Regions from separate parts of the Homo sapiens genome. Here region 1 is linked to region 2. Evidence: promoter capture Hi-C in 16 types of primary human blood cells and fetal thymus (Javierre and others, 2016). All regions are on one chromosome and are shown on one strand. Each heading gives the region's core, a stretch centred on a gene start or on the middle of the fragment in contact. The rest is flanking DNA. Distances are from core to core; before and after follow the strand shown. Region 1 holds the start of CD27 (CD27 molecule). Region 2 holds the start of GNB3 (G protein subunit beta 3).

The links. The method cuts DNA at HindIII sites, captures the fragments that hold promoters and counts their contacts. A CHiCAGO score of 5 or more calls a contact.
Region 1: a contact is called between the fragment with the promoter of CD27 here and the fragment with the promoter of GNB3 in region 2, in 2 of 17 cell types (activated CD4 T cells and total CD4 T cells). The highest score is 5.2, in activated CD4 T cells.

Annotation. Positions count from the first base shown.
Region 1 is chr12:6,443,601-6,446,300 of GRCh38, reverse strand. It overlaps CD27 (CD27 molecule), which reads right to left and starts at 1,346. Exons shown (of 6, transcript NM_001242.5): 1 at 1,070-1,346; 2 at 746-877. The coding sequence starts at 1,205. CD27-AS1 (CD27 antisense RNA 1) reads left to right here. Exons shown (of 6, transcript NR_015382.2): 5 at 2,584-2,700. RefSeq lists enhancers at 66-185, 895-1,074, 1,105-1,164, 709-1,210, 2,115-2,164 and 1 more. The HindIII fragment of the contact is 1,289 bases long and covers 646-1,934 here.
Region 2 is chr12:6,839,502-6,842,239 of GRCh38, reverse strand. GNB3 (G protein subunit beta 3) reads right to left here and starts at 1,315. Exons shown (of 10, transcript NM_002075.4): 1 at 1,207-1,315; 2 at 896-982; 3 at 616-654. The coding sequence starts at 952. P3H3 (prolyl 3-hydroxylase 3) reads right to left here. Exons shown (of 15, transcript NM_014262.5): 15 at 2,393-2,738. The HindIII fragment of the contact is 12,557 bases long and covers 1-2,738 here.

The sequences.
Region 1 (2,700 bases), core at 97-2,596, 400 kb after region 2:
CCCAGTACCAAGAGACCCAGTGACACCAAACACGTTTTGCAAGTAGGTAGTTTAATAGTTACAGTTACCTGGTTCTAAAAAGTGTCTTGCTAGAGAACATTTGTTCAAAGGGGCCACTTTAAAGCCTGCTATTCTAGTGTATACTGGCCGTAGTTTCTGAAATTGTAGCGAAGATGGAGAAATAATAACAGCATTCATAAGCACAACTGCAGATATTATACTTCTTAGTTTAAAAAAAACCTTTTTTTTTGGAACTATAAAATAAAAACACAGGCTACATACATACTCATTTTCTCAAATTGGCTTTTGTGCAAAAAAAGGTTGTTACCTATTGGGTTGCTTTGTTATTTCCTTAGAAAGATGTATTCCAAATTCCCAATGGCCAACCTGCACATGTGCACTCTGGGAACACAGTCAGTTTATTGGTTGGGGGTTGCTTGCCCGAAATCTGGGGTCATAGAGCCACTTCTCTCATTTTATTGTCTTGATCCTATCCATAGACCCGTTCTCACCAATCCCTCAAATTCTATTTATCCCTTTCCTGGAATACTAGATGTCTGCCCACGTTAATTCATGCCCCACCTAGGGTGCCGCATTTCCCAGCATTGGCTCCACTTGCTGTGAGCCTTGAAGAAGGCCAAAGCTTTGGCCCCGTCATCCTCCTTGCACCCCCAAACCCGTCACCAGCCTTGCTCCCCCAGATGCTTGTCCATCGTCCCCACCTACACACCCTTGCCCACCTCACCAGAGTTACAGTGCCGACAGCTCTCACAGTGGGGCCGGGTGTGGTGGTCAGGAGAGAAGGAGACCCCCGGTATGCAAGGATCACACTGAGCAGCCTTTCTATGCTGGTCACAGTCCTTCACGAGGAATGTTCCTGGGAGGAGAGGGTAAGGGATCAAGGCCTGAGAAGGGCTGGTTCTCTGCCCTCTTCAAGGTGGTGCCTCCCCACAGCTGCAGGATTTCCCTCCTTGCTTGAGCTCAGTCTCACCCTGCGCCTATTTACTGTATTAACCCCAGTCCTCTCTCTTTCGCCACTCACCTGGCCCTTACCAAGGCCCCCTCTTACCTGGCTCACACATCTGGCAGCACAGCTTTCCCTGAGCCCAGTAGTGCCTCTCTGGGCAGCTCTTGGGGGCTGGAGTAGCTGAGAGCCCCACCAGGGTCCCCAGAACGCACAGCCACCAGGGATGTGGCCGTGCCATGGTCCCTGCCCAGGCGGCTCCTTTCTGTGCCCAGTTGCTGATGCTGGCCTCTGGAGTTAGCACCTCCAAGCTGGGCGCTGCTGTCTCTTCTTTGCACCCCCTGGGCAGTGGCTGCTTCAGGTGGCAAGCCAACCTTTGAAGGCAGAATCTCTATTGTGGCTGTTTTTTTTTTCTCTCTCATAGCAGCAACCTCCACCCCCTTCCCCTTCCGTGTGCTGGGGAGAGTATTAAAGAGCAAACTCTGTGAGACCTGCTGCTCTTCAAACATGCTTCCTCCAACACATGAGCCTTCCTTAGTTTCCGCCTCTCCTGCTCATGAAGCACGTAGCCCACTGACTCCTGCTTCTTTGACAAAAAGGTGATGGACACACAGTTGCTCACCCCTCCTATTCATGCACTTGTGCACAAAGGTGCCCACGTTACCCCCCCCCACCCACCCCCCCGTCCACAGTTTACAGACGAATTCGCAGGACTCCTGTCTCCCATACCTGCATCCCTCCTTTCACAGACAACAGTTGAAAGAAGGAAGGAGAACCAGAATTGAGCACAGGTCCACAAGCTCTTATCTGAAACTTTGGGGGTCAGATAAGTTTTGGAATTCAGAATTTTTCAGGTTTATACAGAAACCAGCACCACAAAACACCCTTGGGGAGTTGGGGTAGTCTCATAATCAAACGCAACATTTCTGCAGCAAAACTATTGAATATTTACACCAACTGGGAGGAAGCTTAAATAGCCTTGTCTCAATTGAGGTCTGGTTTGATGGCCAAACGAGTTTGCTACAGAATGCTCAGAATTGCAAGCAAGGGGTGTAGAGCTGCCTCTCTTCTGTCACACTCTGACCGATCACCTATGCTCTCCTTTAATCCTCATGTCAGTCTCTGATGTGGGTGCCACCTACTGCCCACATGGCCTTCCCTCTCAGACCCTTGCTCACTCCTCACTTTTGTGCCATCTTTATCCTCCCCTTTCCCACCTCTGGCTGTGTCAGTCACTGGTGTCCTGGATCGCCTGGAGCATCTTCTCTCCTAGCCTTGGGCACTTGGGATTAAAGGTAGCTTCCTACGGGGGTCATCTCTTTTTTATTTTCCCAGTTCTCCCAGCAAGACTGATTTCGGGATATTGGAAACAGCTAGACTTTTCCCTCTTTGAGTCATGGGGACACACACGGGTCAACAGCCTCCTCCACTCTTTCCTCAGCAACCGATATGTGGAGTGGCTTATTTCCCCAGGAAGTTTTTAATTTAGGGGCTTTGCCGTTGTTTCCACACTGTTCATAAATGTCACACTGCTGTGGTCACACCTGTCAGATCTGTTCTCTATCTCACTCTGTAGTTTCCTTTCTCCTCATTTTCTCCATTCTCTTGTCTTTTCCCAGCCCCCTCTGCAGCTCTTCATGGGGGTCCACTCAAGTCAGAAGCCACATTTGGGTGTGATTCAGAGAGCTGTTTATGCAAAACCAGCTTTGTCACCATCAGGCAAGGCACCTGAATTC
Region 2 (2,738 bases), core at 66-2,565:
CACCTCCCTGAGTCTGTTTACTCAAGGTGTAAAATGAGGCTTATCATAGCACCTACCTTACAGAGATATCATGAAAATTCAATGAAATCAGGTATTTATGCAGCTTAGCCCAGTATCTGGCTCATAAAAAGTGTTCACTATTAACATATTTAATCCAATCTAAGATGCATCACTAAGAAAGAAAAGATGCTGTCAATTCTAATTGAAACAATGATCCATTGCTGAATGCACCTTGATTTCAGAGATGTCAAAATGTGAAGAAATGTGCATCTTAGAATTGACAAAATACAGCATAGAAAACTAGCAGCTAGAGTCTACAAGGGCTTTATAATTTACAAAGTACTATCGCTTCTTCATCTTCAAGGCCCTGGGAGGGGGCTGTGGTCACTCTTGTTCTACGGATGAGAATAGGAACCGTGTCCGCATCTTTCGCATCCAATATGGTGCCTGGCTCAGAGCAGGTCCCGCTAAAATGTTGGTCGAATGAATTAATTAATGGGTTTCCTCACTCCAAGGACGTGCTGTACTAATGCTCGGAGCAACGCGCTATTGCGGGTCGGGGAGCTCCCTTCCCCTCCCCCCATGCCCTGCCTTCCGGGGGACAGGGGGTCTTACCTCTGCCAGAGTAACGTCAGCACAGGCTTTCCTGGCATCCTGCAGGGAAAGCAGACATCAGGGGAGCAAGGGCGAGGTGGGGGTGGCAGGTGCATGGGCCTTCAGGGCAGGTTGGTCTTGGGGCTCTGGGGCTTGGGGGTCTCAAATATGCGAACCAAGTTTAGAAAGTCCCTGGTCACTTCTAGTCACTCAAGAGCAAACCCAGCCCCCTCCCCCTGGGCCACGCTCCTCATGTCCCCAGCTGTTTTCTGGGGCCCCAGGGGTAGGGCTCTGGAGTTACTGCAATCTGCTTCTTGAGCTGCTCCGCTTCCTGACGCAGTTGCTCCATCTCCCCCATGGCTGACAGGTCGAGGGGTCACTCTGGCTCCTGCCAGGAACATGGGGTCGGTGTTGAGGAACCCCCCACCAGGCTGTGCTTCTGCCCTTCGTGCCCACACCAGACTCCAAGACACAGGGAAACGACTGGGTGGCTGCACCCTCTCCCCAGCTAGGCCCTCCAAGTTTGAGGTCCTTTGCGTCCAGCCCCAGCCTGCCTGAGCCCTGCCTGCGCCCCAGCCCAGGAGAGCAGAGCCCAGGCCAGCTCCCTCTTACTTGGGCTCTGGCTGGACCTCGGCCGGGTTTCCAGCTCCGGTTCCTGGGAGCCTCCTTACTCCCTCAGCTGCGACGCCCGCGCCCGCCCGTCACCTGCCCAGGCTCTGCTGCCAGAGGAGCTGGCCTGGCCTGGCCTGGCCCCGACCGGCGGGGGGTTGGGGGGGCCTGACAGGGAAGGGTAGAGCCAACCACAACGTCAGGCAAATGAAATCAGCTGGCAGGGGTGGGGGGAAGGGGTGGGGGGAGGGAGGGAGGTGTACGGATTCCAGAGAGACTTGGGCCCAGCCGGGAGGAGGGTTGGGGGCAGGAGTGTGGGGCCATAGAGAGGGGCAGCCCCCACCACAAGCCCTGAGAGAGGAGGGGGTGAAGGGGTGCTTCCCTGGTCAGTCTCTGCAGGCAGAGATAAGAGCATCAGGCCCCACAGGATTAGAGCAAAGCTGTGAGGATTAAGGGTTGGGGTTTGGGAGGGGTGCAAAGGAGCAGACAACTACAGCTCCAGTGGCCCCCCTGGTCCCGGCCCCCATCCATGGTGATGATCTTGGCAGTCAGGGCCACTTAGCAACCAGGCCAGGAGGTGGGATATAAGGGTGATAGATGGCCCCATTGTCAGTACCTCAAACTGTGCTCCTCAGCTCAGGGTGGTGGGGAAGAGGGTTTGGTGAGTATGGGAGGGTACAGGCAGGAGCTGAGATTAGAAAGGACTGATCTGGATAATCCTTCTTCTCGACAAACCCCAACCAGCTGCCTCTGGGTCTGATCCTGTTGGGGGAGAAAGGTACAGGGGACCCACAGAGAAGGATGGACAGGTCTGCCCCTATTGTGGGCGGGCAACGGATTTCAAGTGGAGGGAAGGCCCGCACGCTGCTCCCAGGCTGGGGTCTGGCCCCCTCCTTGCCCTCTCGAGGCTGTGAAAGCAGGGGTCAGAGAGAAAGCAGGCGGCCCTAAGTCTCAGCAAAGCTCAGAGAGGGAAGACAGGGCTTACACTTGGAGGCCTAAGGAGCAGCTGCCAGGGGCTTGGGTCATTTGCATGAGGGGAGCAGGTGGCTGAGATTTCCCTGACAAATCACAGGCTCCAGGCGCCCCGCCTCTGGGAGGCCCAAAGACACCTGTCTCCTCCCAGGCCAGCCAGAGCCACCCCCACCTCCAGCCATCACAGAATCTGTGATACACTTGACTGGCCCCTGGCTGAGAGATCTTCACGACCTTTATTGCACAGACTGGGAGAGAGGAGCAGGGTTATACCTCCCAACCCCACCATCCTCTTCATTTAAAGCATCAGCCTCCTCCCCTGCCATTTCTGTTCAGGGAGGCACAGTGTTCCCCATCTGTCCAGGGCTGCAGGTCCGGCAGCGGGGCCCCGTCCCAGCTCCCCAGGCCTGGTGAGCTCCAGGCTAGCCTGTGCACTGTCCTCTGAGTCCAGGCCCTTGTAGGTCCCCAAGATGGTGGGGGTGCAGGGACAGAGAGCTTGCTGTTCTGCTCCTGATGTCACACAGGGGCTTCCTGTGTGTCCTGGCATCAAGATGGCCTTCCAC